Linked DNA regions of Homo sapiens: all the other regions are linked to region 5. The links are contacts of gene promoters, found by promoter capture Hi-C in blood cells and fetal thymus (Javierre and others, 2016). All regions are on one chromosome and are shown on one strand. The core of a region is centred on a gene start or on the middle of the fragment in contact, and the rest is flanking DNA. Distances in the headings are between cores, read along the strand shown. Region 1 overlaps MTMR14 (myotubularin related protein 14). Region 2 overlaps FANCD2 (FA complementation group D2). Region 3 overlaps EMC3 (ER membrane protein complex subunit 3). Region 4 overlaps EMC3-AS1 (EMC3 antisense RNA 1). Region 5 holds the start of TTLL3 (tubulin tyrosine ligase like 3).

Region 1 (2,700 bases), core at 79-2,578, 130 kb after region 5:
TGAGGGAACTGCTCAAAGTGATGACCGAGGAGATATGCTAAAAAACAAACAAACAAACAAACAAACAAGGCTCGTGCCTGACTCTCTCATCCTACGTGCTTCATGAAAAAGTCTCTGGGAGCTGAGCTAAATGCCATGCCTCTGCTTATGTTTCTATGCCTAGAGTACTCTTTCTGCTGGTTGGTAAACTCCTACTCATCCTTCAAAGGCCCAGACCAATTATCTTCTCTTTGGGGTTTCTGTGACCACTGGTAAAAACTGTAATGTAGGTGATGGTTACGTTGTTGCCTCTTTTCCTAGTCTAATCCCCATGAGGGCAGAGGCTGTTTTGGCATCTCTAAGGCTTAGTGTTCAGGGACTAGGAGGTCATTGCAGAATGTTCCTTGCTGCTTCTTCATAGCTGGGGCAATGCTGAGTGCCTGAGGGACAGCAGCCCCAGGGAGGGGTCTTAGGACACAGAAAGAAGGGGCATACCTCTACGGAATTCAATTCGGTTACATGGAGGGCAGCAAGACACATGTGTCCTGCCACAACTGCTCCTATCATTCATTCATTCACTCATTCATTCATTCAGTAAGCCTCACACTGCATGCCTCCTGAAGGGCCTGGCACCAGGCACACAAGGGTGAATATGACCTCAACAATCATGGAGTCACGGGAGAGGGAAGACAAAGTTAACCACTGCAGGTGTGCAACTAAAAGGGGACCTCTAGGATGCTGTGTAACCATATGACTGGAGAGCCAAGCCTGATCTGTAGGGACATCAGAGAAGGCTTCTCAGAGGTGATGACATGAGACAGCATAAGCAACAGAGAAAGGAGACACGTGTTTCTGGCAGAGAAAACAGCACGTGCGAACCTGGAGAGGGCTGCCTTCTTTTGTTTGTTTGTTTGTTTGTTTTTTTGAGACGGAGTCTCGCTCTGTCGCCCAGGCTGGAGTGTAGTGGCGCGATCTCAGCTCACCGCAAGCTCCGCCTCCCGGGTTCACGCCATTCTCCTGCCTCAGTCTCCCGAGTAGCTGGCACTACAGGCGCCCGCCACCACGCCCGGCTAATTTTTTAGTAGAGATTGGGTTTCACTGTGTTAGCCACGATGGTCTCGATCTCCTGCCCTCGTGATCTGCCCGCCTTGGCCTCCTAAAGTGCTGGGATTACAGGCATGAGCCACCGTGCCCGGCCATGGGCTGCAGGAAGATCAGCTGGTCACAAGAACAGGCAAGACCAGACTGCATGGAGCTGGGTAGGCCATGTACAAGTTCTTGCATTGTATTCTGAGGAAAATGGGAAGTCAGTGGTAGGTTTTAAGGCAGGGGTGACAGTGATGGCCCTGCTCTATCATTTCAGTGCTTGCTATCTGAGCACTTCATTTCTAGTTACTCCTCAGTGAGGCCCCAGGTTCAGCTGTGAGATGCACTGAGACAGTGGTGGCCTGAGCTAGGCACTGCACAGGAGACGAGGGCAAGAAGGATTGCAGTTGCACTAGGGGCAGAGACTAGAGAACCGATGGGAGCTGGTGATGGATGTGGTGGGAGCAAAGAACTCGAGTTTCAGGTGTGAGCATCTGGGTAAATGGTGGGCCATGGCCAACTCTACTCTGGACAGCTTGAGTCTGAGGGGCCGCCTGAAGGGACATGTGTGAAAGGTGATGCAGGTATGGATCAGAGAGGCCTGGCTGTGGGCTCATGGTGTGGACGATGGATGAGATCACCTGGGGAGATGGTGAAAAGGAACAGGGTACCGGCACCCCAGGGCTTTGCGGGCAGAAAAGGCAGAGCCCACACCCAGCCAAGGAAGAGCATGCTAGGAGCCCCAGTGAGACAAAACAGGTTGAGCAACACTGAAGAGGTGGCCTCTTGGGAGGCGCCTGCCTGCCTGCTACACTCCAGCCCTGCTGCCTTCACGCCTGGAAGTTTCAGTGTTCACTTCCCTGAATTAGCTAGCTAGCAGCCTCTTCATAATTATCATTACAATCTGTCTGGTATTTCAGTTCAGGAGTCCCTTTCAAGCAGTGATCATATTTGAGCCTGGCACAACTCTGAAATAGGTACTGCCAACACCATTTTCAGGGGGAAGTGAGGTCATCTGTTCAAGGCCACAGAGCCTTGCAGGAAGGGCCAGGCAAGCTGGGACCTAGATCTAGGGCCTGCATCTACTAAGCAGAGTACCTCCTCACACGCACAGGACCCCTTCCTAAAGAGGCAAACATCCTTGGGACCAGTGCCTGGAACTGTCACATCTCATTTGCTGAGTAGTTCATCAGATCCAGTTTGTACCTGCATAAGGAGAAAAAATGGTGCCGGAAGGGACCAGAAAGAGGGTGGCTTGGGGCAGAGTCTACTTGACCTCTGCATGCAGCACATAAAGAAGGAAGCCTGCCGGTTCTTTTATCTACTCAGTCTGTCTAGGCACAGCCTGGGACATGAGACCACAGCACAGGTACCCCAAACCTGTTCCTTCTCCAGGCTTCCAGACCATAACAAACAACTGGTCTGCTTTCCTCCCCAGTGCTCCCTCTCTTGCAAACACCTGCATTGGGGAACTCTGACATCACCCTACTTCATACACTCAAACAGTTGCTGTGAGCATAAACCTTGTGATTAGGGTCTGGATATATATAGAGAAAACAAGATGGACCTTGCTGCTATCAGGACAACAGGGTACTGACATTGGTGATCTAGGAGCACCCAGTTGCTTAACATAGA
Region 2 (2,784 bases), core at 10-2,509, 220 kb before region 5:
AACCTGGGAGGTGGAGCTTGCAGTGAGCAGAGATCGCGCCACTGCACTCCAGCCTGGGCGACAGAGCAAGACTCCGTCTCAAAAAAAAAAAAAAAAAAAAGACTTAGCTTTGATAGCAGATAGCCACTAAGTGTTCTAAAAAAGACCTGCCATAACCTTAGCAAGATAGAATAATCTGCTCCCCCAAAACAGAATCTTATATGGCTTTATAAATTTTCTTCTGAAATTATTCTGACACTGATACAGCTGCTTTCTGGATATTTATTTTTTCATAAGAAAACACAAAATAAATAATATATAATATTTTTTCTAATAAAAGGATGAGAAATGCTTTACTTAAGACATAGTAATGAGGACCAAAGACTGTACCATTTTCTTTTTCCATTTTTGTTTTTTGGAAATGGAGTCTCACTCTTGTCGCCCAGGCTGGAGTGCAGTGGTGCGATCTTGACTCACTGCAACTTTCACCTCCCGGGTTCAAGCAATTCTCCTGACTCAGGCGCCCAAGCAGCTGGGACTACAGGCACATGCCACCATGCCCGGCTAATTTTTTATATTTTAGTAGAGACGTGTTGCCCAGGCCGGTCGCAAATTCCTGAGCTCAGGCAATCCGCCTGCCTCGAGCCTCCCAAAGTGCTGGGATGATAAACGTGAGCCACCGCGCCCGGCCTGACTGTACCATTTTCTAAAAAGCAATTTCAACTTTGTCTCAAGATGGATGGCCCTCTGATTTCTAATCTTCATTGCCTCTCTATTTAGAAAACCCATGATTCAGTCCTGAACTATTTCATTAAACCCAGAGAATAAAATTAGATTAAAATATTACCTAGTTGATTCTGACTCTCTCCCGTTTTAAGAATAATTCCTGATATCTTAAGAAGCTTTACAAAGATGCTGTCATTTTCTTCAACTTCATTAGCAATATGAGATTTCTTTGTCTTTTTGGAAAGTGGTTGCTTCCTGGTTTCTGAAAATAGAAAAATTTTCAAGAATATGGCAAATAGTAAAGGAAAAATTAAAACTTAAACCCAGGAATAATAATCATGAGAGGAAAACTGATGTGTCCTTAAAAATTATACTAGGATTGATGCTGTAGTGAAATAAACTGTCTTCAGCAATAGTGGCTTCCAAAACAAACAAATAGAATTATTTTCACCTATTTTCATTTGAAGAATTCAAAATGTGCCATTTCTGGCCAGGCAAGGTGGCTCATGTGGTAATCCCAGCAAATTAGGAGGCCAAGGCAGGAGGATCACTTGAAGCCAGGAGTTCAAGACCAGCCTGGGCAACAAAGTGAGACCACCCCCCCATCTCCCCCCCTTCACCCCCATTCCCCCCCTCCACACACAAACTAGTTAGGTGAGGAGACGCACACCTGTAGTCCCAGCTACTTCGGAGGCTAAGGCGGAAGAATAACTTGAGCCCAGGAGGTTGAGGCTATAGTGAGCTATGATATTACCACTGCACTCCAGCCTGGGTGACAGAGTGAAATCCCCATCTCTAAAAAAATAAATTCAAACAAATAAGTGCCTAACAAGAATAACCCACAGAAATGTTTTCCACCCAAATACTAAACTAGCCAGTGTCTCTCAAGCTGTTGCCTGCAAACCACTGTACTGGAATCCCTGGGAAGCTTATTAAAATGCATATTTCCGACCCAGCACAGTGGCTCACGCCTGTAATCCCAGCACTTTGGGAGGCCGAGGCAGGCTGATTACCTGAGGTCAGGAGTTCAAGACCAGCCTGGCTAACGTGGTGAAACCCCATCTCTACTAAAAATACAAAATTAACTGGGTGTGGTGGCGTGCGCCTGTAATACCAACTACTCGGGAGGCTGAGGAGGAGAATCACTTGAACCCGGGAGGCAGAGGTTGCAGTGAGCCCAGATCGCGCCACTTCACTCCTGCCTGAGCAACAGAGTGACACTCTGTCTCAAAGGAAAAAAAAGGCATATTCCATGCCATATACCAGAGTTACTGAGTCAAAATCTTGGGAATGGGACCTAGGAATCCGAATTTTTTATGTTCTTCAGATAATAATCCTGATACACACCAAATTTGAGACTCAATGATCTGAATAAAGGGTAGACAGAATGGGGAAGGTTCTTTGTATCATATCTTTGACTACAATGCTCAGATAGGTTTAATCCCAAGACTTTCAACCCATAAAAAGAAATAAGAAACAAGAAACAAACAGGTACTTGAAGCCAAGTTTAAAATTTACTCTTCTCCCTTAATGATGCCATTTTGTTTTTTCCTTCTTCAATTCCTCTCCCTCTTTCTTTTTTTTTTTTTTTTGAAATGGAGTCTTGCTCTGTCGCCCAGGCTGGAGTGCAGTGGCGCGATCTTGGCTCACTGCAAGCTCCGCCTCCCGGGTTCATGCCATTCTCCTGCCTCAGCCTCCCAGTAGCTGGGACTACAGGTGCACACCACCACGCCCGGCTAATTTTTTGTATTTTTAGTAGAGACGGGGTTTCACCATGTTAGCCAAGATGGTCTCAATCTCCTGACCTCGTGATCTGCCCGCCTTGGCCACCCAAAGTGCTGGGATTACAGGCGTGAGCCACCGTGCCTGGCCTCCTTTCCCTCTTTCTAATAAAGCCTTAATCAGAATGAGACAAAGACCACTACCTTCCTGAATGAAATGTAAAACACAACCAGAATGAAAGTTTCAGTTTGTTCATTACTGACCAAGAGAACCCAAATCCCTTCTAATAAACTTAATTCAGAAGTCTCTTCTCTTTTGGAGAACAGTATTTCCAAAGTATAACATTTACTTTCAGTA
Region 3 (2,700 bases), core at 80-2,579, 160 kb before region 5:
GGCCAGGCAATCATTTTTAGTAATACCCTTGAGCTTATGGGAGTGGAAGTTTGTATTTTTTTTTTTCCAAAGTACATTACTACTAATGATAATAGTTTTCATTAGTTCTAGTCACTGGGCTTAGCGTTTTCCATATTTTACCCTCATAGCAACCTATGAAACCTGTGTAGGAATTGACATTTGATGACAAGGTCTGTTCAAATCCAGCACCCATGTGTTACTTACCACTCTTTATAATTTTTTAAAAGAGATTTCTCCTTCTGAATACCACTATTTTTTTTTGAATGGCAGAATAAGAAAAATTAAAATCTGAAAAGCTCTTAGAAAATACTGCTACAATATCTGGAACCTAGTAATGCTGCTTCATGTAGCCTCTCCAGACTCTTGCCTGTGGCTTCCCAAAGACTGGCATAAACAAGAGGAAAAGAAAAATGGACAAAATGGGGATTACTAGTGGTAATCTTGACTACTTGGTTTGAGCAGAGCCCTCTAGGATGTGTGGGAGGAGCAGGAAAGGCCAGAGGCTGGGAAGGCTGGGCCATGCACAGTTCTGCTAGAGAAGAAAAGCTGTACATTATATGAGTAGCATGAGTCTATTCTACTTTTACCTTCAGTCTCATTGGGCTAAACAAAAACTTCATGGGTTGGAGAAAAGCTTATTTATCTTTTCTCAGCATCCAGAGAGGCATGTGACTGAAATGCAGTCATGGACAGACGCGAGACTGGAACCTGAGTGTACAATTACCACTGTGGTGAGATCAGCAACATTGTATTCAGACAGGCCATTTACTTACCTGCAGCCTATGGAGTAACCAGAATAGACTCTTGCCCTTATGTGACCCACTTGTTGGAATGAGTGTGGATCTTTCCATTTATCTATCACTTCCCATATGCATTTTTGTTTTTAGTTTTTATTATATGCAAGCATATTTATTTTATGGAGGTTGAGTAGGAAACCTAAGCTAAAGGAAGCCTCAGTGATATAGTTCAAAACTTGGAATGGCTCTCCCAGTAGCTATAGTCCTCGGTACTGTATTTCCTGAAATCCATGTCTCATCCCTTCTTGTAAGTATGGAACACACCCAGTGGCTCACGCCTGTAATCCCAGCACTTTGGGAGGCTGAGGTGGGCGGATCACTTGAGGTCAGGAGTTCGAGACCAGCTTGGCCAACATGGTGAGACCCCATCTCTAATAAAAATATAAAAATTAGCCAGGCATGGTGGTGTGTGCCTGTAGTCCCAGCTACTCAGGAGGTTGAGGCAGGAGAATCTCTTGAACCCAGGTGGCAGAGGTTGCAGTGAGCCAAGATTGCGCCACTGCACTCCAGCCTGGGTAACAGGGTGAGACTCCGTCTCAAAAAAAAAAAAAGTATGGAACACACCAACACTTGTGATTTCCTCTAGGGAATGGAATTCAGAATGGGAGTCACCTTTGGATTTTTTGAAATATAGTTCTGTATTGGTGAGACTGCTTTAACAACTTGTATTTCTTCTGTGGTTGTGCTTTGGATGAATATAGCCCATCCAAGGTGACTTCTTTACAAACACTGAACAACTTTGGGTGGTAGGGAAGTGGGAACTGCATTACTCTCTGATATAATAACTAACCACACCATTTTCATTTTGCTTTGCCAGGGTGAGTTCTGCATCCTGGTACTTCCTCAATGTATTTGGGCTTCGGAGCATTTACTCTCTGATTCTGGGCCAAGATAATGGTAAGAAGCATGTCAGGTTTACTAAGCAAATACTTCCATAGATGAATCATCCATATTAGAGCCAGAAAAGTCTTGTAGGTTGTGCTGTTTGTTACCATAGTCAAATAAAATGTTTCCTTCCTTAAGTTTCTGAGGTATTCTGAAAGAGTCTTAAAAATTCCGGGGGTCAAACTGAAGATCTCAATTCTCTCTGGCAATGACTGGGACAGTATTTTGATTCCCCAGAGTCTGATACCATCATGTGAGGGATCCAGCACCAGCAGTGTAAGCCTGTGAACCTAAAGCTTAAAGAAGGCTTGGTTTGTCAGTTCATTGACTAGAGCCCTTGCCAGTACTAATCCTTGCTCTCTTGTTTACTGGCTGGGACCTCAGAAAAGTTACTTAACAAGTTACTTAACTTCGAATTCTCTATTTACTTATCTGTAAATAAGGACTTTATTAGTTAACCTGTGGGGTTGTTAGGAACAGATGAGGAAAAATATGCAAAGCACTTAGTGAAGTACTTGGCATGCAGTAGTTGCTCAATAACTGGTGGCTGTTATTGTTGAAATTTGAAATAAAGTTTAGAGCTTCCTTTAGTGATCTCTCTTTTGCTGTTACTGTCCCCATTTTTCAGGAGACACAAAGTGACTTTCCTAGAGTCACATAGCCAGTGGGTGACAGGGCCAGCCAGTGAGGCTGTAGTCCAGTTCTCTAATCTGTGTGAAGCCCATTCTTCCCCTTGGGTGCTGGGGTGCTTGCTGAGTCCTGGCACTCATGTAAGTGTGTCTTATGCTACAGCCGCTGACCAATCACGAATGATGCAGGAGCAGATGACGGGAGCAGCCATGGCCATGCCCGCAGACACAAACAAAGCTTTCAAGGTATACTCCTTCACCTTTCAAAGCTGCAGCAATGCTCTGAAAGGTGTTACCAAGAGCTATTTTAAAAATAGCTTCCTTGAAGGGAGTGTTGTGTGGTTCCATCGTTTTAATTTAAACTTAGT
Region 4 (2,742 bases), core at 213-2,712, 180 kb before region 5:
CACAATGGATGATGCTCATTTGTTCCACACACTCCCCTGGTAGTATCTACACTTTTCACAAAACCCAGAAATATTTTTTAAAGAAATAAAGTGCCACAACTATTAACCACTGGTATCTCTTAGGAATACATTCCAATATACATTAAAGTGATACTACTACAGAAGTAACTTTGAACATCTTCACATTTATTAAAAGATTCAATCACTTGCCAACTCCAGTATGTATTTTCACTATTACTAGAAAAATTACTTTGTGAAAAGTTGGAAAGACTATAAATGCCCATCAATCTGGAAAGGGTTCAGTAAATTATGATGGAGTAATTTTAATTTTTGAAATATTATAGTCATCAAAAAGGATAAGCCAGGCTGGGCGTGGGGGCTCACACCTGTAATCCCAGTACTTTGGGAGGCTGAGGTACACATATCACCTGAGGTTAGGAGTTCGAGACCAGCCTGGCCAACACGGTGAAACCCCATTTCTACTAAAAAATACAAAAAAAAATTGGCCAGTCGTGGTGGCAACTGCCTGCAATCCCAGCTACTCAGGAGGCTGAGGCAGGTCAACGACTCGAACCCGGGAGGTGCAGGTTGCAATGAGCCGAGATTGTGCCACTGCACTCCAGCCTGGGTGACACAGCGAGACTCTGTCTAAAAAAGACTTTTTAATTACAAAATTTAAAAAAAAAAGAAAAAGGTAGATCAGGGGTCCCCAACTCCTGGATCACGGAGTCTGTGGTCTGCTAGGAACCAAGCTGCACAGCAGGAGGTGAGGGGTGGTCAAGTGGTCATTACCACTGAGATCCGCCTCCTGTCAGATTAGCGGCTGCATTAGATTCTCACGGGAGCGCAAACCCCATTGTGAACTGCACATGCGCAGGATCTAGGCTGCACATTCCTTATGAGAATCTAAGTAGTGCCTGATGATCTAAAGTTGAACAGTTTCATCCTGAAATCATGCCCCGAAACGGTCTGTGGAAAAACTGTCTTCCATGAAACCAGTCCCTGGTGCCAAAAAGGTTAGGGACTGCTGAGCCATACTCTATTTTTTGACAGAGGAAAGACATTCCTGATATGAAGTGGAAAAAACAGCAGCCTGCAAAAGGATAATCAGGCTGGGCATGAAGGCTCATGCCTATAATCCCACTGCTTTGGGAGGCTGAGGAGGGAGGATCATTGAGCCCAGGAGGTGGAGGCAACAGTGAGCTACGATTGTGCCACTGCACTCCAGCCTGGCGACAGAGTGAGACCCTGTCTCTTTAAACACCACCACCACCACCCATAATCATAGTTAAGATTCTGCTTTTGTAAAAACAATATATAAACATATATATGTGTAGGCATAAGAGTATACCTGTACTTGCACACAATTACAGCTTGTATATGAAGAGAAAAAATTTGGAAGGATGATTACCCCTGAGGAATGGGAAAGAGAGCAGAGAAAAACTGTATTTTTTACATCTGTAGATTCCTTGTGGATTTTTCTCCACAATTAGCTTGTTTACCTAAGTTTAAAAAAGAAAAATATGAGGGCTGGGTGCAGTGGCTCATGCCTATAATCCCAGCACTTTGGGAGGCCCAAGCAGGAGGATCACTTGAAGCTAAAAATTTGAGACCAGCCTGGGAAACACAGCAAGACCTCATCTCTATAAAAAATAAAAGAATGGCCGGGCGCGGTGGCTCACACCTGTAATCCCAGCACTTTGGGAGGCCAAGGCGGGCAGATCACGAGGTCAGGAGATCGAGACCATCCTGGCTAACATGGTGAAACCCCGTCTCTACTAAAAATACAAAAAATTAGCCAGGCGAGGTGGTGGGCGCCTATAGTCCCAACTACTCAGGAGGCCGAGGCAGGAGAATGGCGTGAACCCGGGAGGCGGAGCTTGCAGTGAGCCGAGATCGTGCCACTGCACTACAGCCTGGGCGACAGCGAGACTCCGTCTCAAAAAATAAATAAATAAATAAATAAATAAAAGAATTGGCCAGGCGTGGTGGCTCACACCTGTAATCCTAGCACTTTGGGAGGCTGAGGCAGGTGGGTGGATCACCTGAGTCAGGAGTTTGAGACTAGCCTGGCCAATATGGTGAAATCCCATCTCTGCTAAAAATACAAAAATTAGCCAGGCATGGTGGCAGGCACCTATAATCCCAGCTACTAGGGAGGCTGAGGCAGGAGATTTGCTTCAACCCAGGGGCCAGAGGTTGCAGTGAACCGAGATTGTGGCACTTCACTATAGCCTAGGCAAAAGAGCGAAACTCTCTCAAAATAACTAACTAACTAACTAACAGAATTAGCCAGGCCTGGTGGTGCTTGCCTGTAGTCCCAGCTACTCCAAAGACTGAGGTGGGGGGATCGCTTGAACCCGGGTGTTTGAGACTGCAATGAACTATGATGCTGTCACCGCACTCCACCTTCGGTGACAGAGCAAGACTTAGTCTCTTAAAAAAAAAAAAAAAAAAAAAAAAAGAGAAAGGCCCGGCACGGTGGCTCACACCTGTAATCCCAGGACTTTGGGAGGCTGAGGTGGATCATAAGGTCAGGAGATCCAGACCATCCTGGCTAACAACGTGAAACCCCATCTCTACTAAAAATACAAAAAATTAGCCGGGCGTGGTGGCAGGCGCCTGTAGTCCCAGCTACTCGGGAGGCTGAGGTAGAAGAATGGCATGAACCCAGGAGGTGGAGCTTGCAGTGAGCTGAGATTGCGCCACTGCCTGCACTCCAGCCTGGGTGACAGAGCAAGA
Region 5 (2,700 bases), core at 88-2,587:
AAGATGAGGGGACAGGATGGAGGTAGACCAGCTAGGAGGCTGTCATAGTTTGCCTAGGAGAGAAATCACAATTACTAAAATGAAGGTGGTTACAACACAGACGGGAGAAGGTGCTAGAGTTGAGAATCGTTTTGGAGGTGGAGATGACAAGTGGTTTTGCTGATGGAATTAGACCTGTGGGTGAAGAAACAGAAAGATGAGATTTCTGGCGTGAGGAACTGAGAGATGGGAAAGACTGGAGACTGGGGAGGACGACAGGTTTGGGCAGGAAGATCAAAGTCTGGTTTGGGACATGAATTTGAAATGCTTGTTAAGTTTTCTGGGTGTAGATGACAGGTAGGGGCTAGATCTACGGGATGTGGAGTTCGAGGCTGGGCTGGAAGGGGCACGGAGAGGGTGCAGCACACTGACTGGACTCAGCCAAGGACACAGCCAAAGGAGACAGACCTGGGGAAGGGGCCAGGGGGCCACTAATGGCTGAGGAACCTTTAAAGGCCGCTGAAAAGCAGCAGCCAAAGAGGGAGAAAGGAAAACTAGGAGCGTGCAGTCAGACAGCCAAGAGGAAGGGTGTGTGGGGCAGCGGTGTCGAAAGATACAGGGTGCCCAACCGAGATCAAGACCGAAAGGCACTGCTGGGTTTGGCTCCCTGGAACTCACCAGGCACCTTGATTAGAGTGGGACATCGCAGGGAACCAGAGTGGAGGGAGCCCAGAAGTTTGGTGCTGAAGGGGTAAACGGGGAGGTAGTTGAAGATGGGTGTGGTGGTTGAGGATTTTTGCTATTGTTTTTTCTTTTGCTTTTGTTTTTTAAGGATATAAGAAAACAGCGCAGGGAGACAGGCTGAGCCGCTCCCAGGGCCCTTTCTAAGCGCCCCTGCCCCTCCTCTGACCTTGACAGCTCTCTCCACGTAGATTTTGGCGTTTCTGAGCCGGTTCATGTGAGACGCCTTGGAGGATCCTCGCCAGAGGACCGGGAAACCTGCAGAAAGATGCGGAATAGGGGCGGGGTACACTGAGGCTGGGCCTAGGGTCTCGGCCTAGGATCTTTTCTGGCCGCCCATAGCCACGCCTCTTTTCTTCCTCCTGCCTTCATCCAGATGCCCACCCTCAGCCGCTCTTCTCCCGACCCCCAGTCCCTCCACCCCAGCGTCTTGTCGTCCTCGCAGCCGCTGTAGGCCAGAGCGAGCGGGCCGCACGGGCCTCACCATCCTGCGGAGAGGGGTCGAGGACCGGGGTGTGCGGGGGGCCGAGGGGGTGGGTATCCGAGGCGCCCTGGGCGTGGGTGCCTGGGACCAGCGTCTTGAAGGCGCCGCTGAGGCGGCGCGCAGGGGCGGGGCTGCCCGCCTGGCATCTGCCGCCTGCGTGACCCTCCTCGGACTGGGCGGAGGCAGGGCCGGCCCATGGCAGCCTCCTGGGTGGACGGAACTCGGAGCGGCGCGCCGAGGGGAAACTGGTGCGTGGCTCGAGCGGCTGCGGCTTCCGCAGCCAGTTGCACACCGCGCCGCCCTCCTGGCGGTACCAGGAGGCCGAGCCCCGGCGCCCGGGCCCCAGCTCCCTCGCGCTCAGGAGCAGTGGCGCGTCGGGGCCCTGCATGCGCCCCTCGCCGCGCTCGCCCTCCCAGGGCCCCTGATCCCGCGCCCCTCCGCGTCGCCGCCTCCTCTCCCGGGAAGTTCCTGCCTAGGCTCGAGCCTTGTCCTCCGTTCCAAGCCCCGCCCCGTTTGCTATTGCCTTGGAAACCATTCCCTGGGCACCATCAGACCGCTCGGGGCTGGTTGGGGGCTGCGATGGGCCCCGGGGCAGTCGAGCGAGGGCTTCCTTATGACCTGGGGCCTCACCCAGACCCTTGATGAGCAGGGCACTGAAGGCGGAAGAGAGCACTGAGCCCCAGTTAGTTAGTGTTGCGGTTCCTTATCCAGTACTTCCTGGTGCCACCGGCCCTAGGGTTTGAGTGATTCCACAGTATTTATAGGCGCTAACAAATGGCCCCTGACCTCATGGAGCTTACTAAAAGCCCAGTGTGAGGGGAATAAAAAGCAAGTAACAAAGGAAGAGAATAGTTTACAGGTATAATAAGGGCAATGAACAAGCAGAGGTGAAACCAGGAAGGGGGCGCATTTTAGATAAAGTGGCGCATTTAAGCTGAAGGTGTAAATGCCAGGAGTCAGGAGTCACCAGGGAAAGGGGAGGAACTGCACTTCAGGGAAGGGACAGTCCCAGCAACAGCCCTGAGAAGGGTAAGAACCTCTGTGCGAACTACAAGACAGCCAGGGTGGCTGGAGCCTGGTGAGGCCAGATCAGACCTGCTGGGCCTGGCAGATGGGCCTAGGGTAAGGTCCTTAGCGAGGGCAGCATATGGGGGTAACAAGAAGGTGCAGAGCACACCCTCCCCAGAAACTGGAAATGGAAAAACAATCATTTGAGTCAACTGCGAAAGAAATGTAATAGTTCACAACAGTTATGCCTGGCCCCCAGGCTAAGACTGTAAGCAACCTTTTTGGAAGCACTGGCAAAATATTATCCTCAAAAGTCACAGGGGAGGTAAGGCTCCAAGATGTTAAACAATTTGCCTCAAATCACAGAGCAGAGGCAGCACTGGAACCCAGGTCTGACTCCAAAGCCTGTCTCTTAAACACCTGTTATCACTCAGGTTGCCTGCCAGTCACAGAAGGACCACACAGGGACAGTTTGAGAGGCAAACTCT

What was found. Contacts are between HindIII fragments. The CHiCAGO score rates a contact against its expected background, and 5 or more counts as called.
Region 1: a fragment that was not itself captured here is called in contact with the fragment with the promoter of TTLL3 in region 5 in 1 of 17 cell types (neutrophils); the score reaches 5.4 in neutrophils.
Region 2: a fragment that was not itself captured here is called in contact with the fragment with the promoter of TTLL3 in region 5 in 13 of 17 cell types (erythroblasts, monocytes, megakaryocytes and 10 more); the score reaches 11.9 in erythroblasts.
Region 3: a fragment that was not itself captured here is called in contact with the fragment with the promoter of TTLL3 in region 5 in 12 of 17 cell types (monocytes, megakaryocytes, erythroblasts and 9 more); the score reaches 10.5 in monocytes.
Region 4: a fragment that was not itself captured here is called in contact with the fragment with the promoter of TTLL3 in region 5 in 4 of 17 cell types (erythroblasts, activated CD4 T cells, neutrophils and 1 more); the score reaches 6.2 in erythroblasts.

The regions. Positions count from the first base shown.
Region 1 is chr3:9,679,041-9,681,740 of GRCh38, reverse strand. All of the region lies in intron 9 of MTMR14 (myotubularin related protein 14), which reads right to left. Among named protein-coding and RNA genes, the nearest start is that of CPNE9, 23 kb to the left of the region's middle. The HindIII fragment of the contact is 4,297 bases long and covers 1-2,700 here.
Region 2 is chr3:10,031,015-10,033,798 of GRCh38, reverse strand. FANCD2 (FA complementation group D2) reads right to left here. Exons shown (of 44, transcript NM_001018115.3): 3 at 827-967. Among named protein-coding and RNA genes, the nearest start is that of FANCD2, 6.0 kb to the right of the region's middle. The HindIII fragment of the contact is 752 bases long and covers 884-1,635 here.
Region 3 is chr3:9,969,597-9,972,296 of GRCh38, reverse strand. EMC3 (ER membrane protein complex subunit 3) reads left to right here. Exons shown (of 8, transcript NM_001394674.1): 6 at 1,636-1,715; 7 at 2,496-2,578. Among named protein-coding and RNA genes, the nearest start is that of EMC3, 16 kb to the left of the region's middle. The HindIII fragment of the contact is 1,344 bases long and covers 658-2,001 here.
Region 4 is chr3:9,990,048-9,992,789 of GRCh38, reverse strand. The region is part of intron 2 of EMC3-AS1 (EMC3 antisense RNA 1); the gene reads right to left. It also overlaps a transcript of EMC3 not described here. Among named protein-coding and RNA genes, the nearest start is that of EMC3-AS1, 4.5 kb to the right of the region's middle. The HindIII fragment of the contact is 3,447 bases long and covers 1-2,742 here.
Region 5 is chr3:9,808,899-9,811,598 of GRCh38, reverse strand. It overlaps TTLL3 (tubulin tyrosine ligase like 3), which reads right to left and starts at 1,337. Exons shown (of 14, transcript NM_001387446.1): 1 at 1,205-1,337; 2 at 890-978. The coding sequence starts at 937. The region is part of intron 4 of ARPC4-TTLL3 (ARPC4-TTLL3 readthrough); the gene reads right to left. RefSeq lists a silencer at 1,156-1,635 and an enhancer at 2,116-2,265. The HindIII fragment of the contact is 3,571 bases long and covers 1-2,700 here.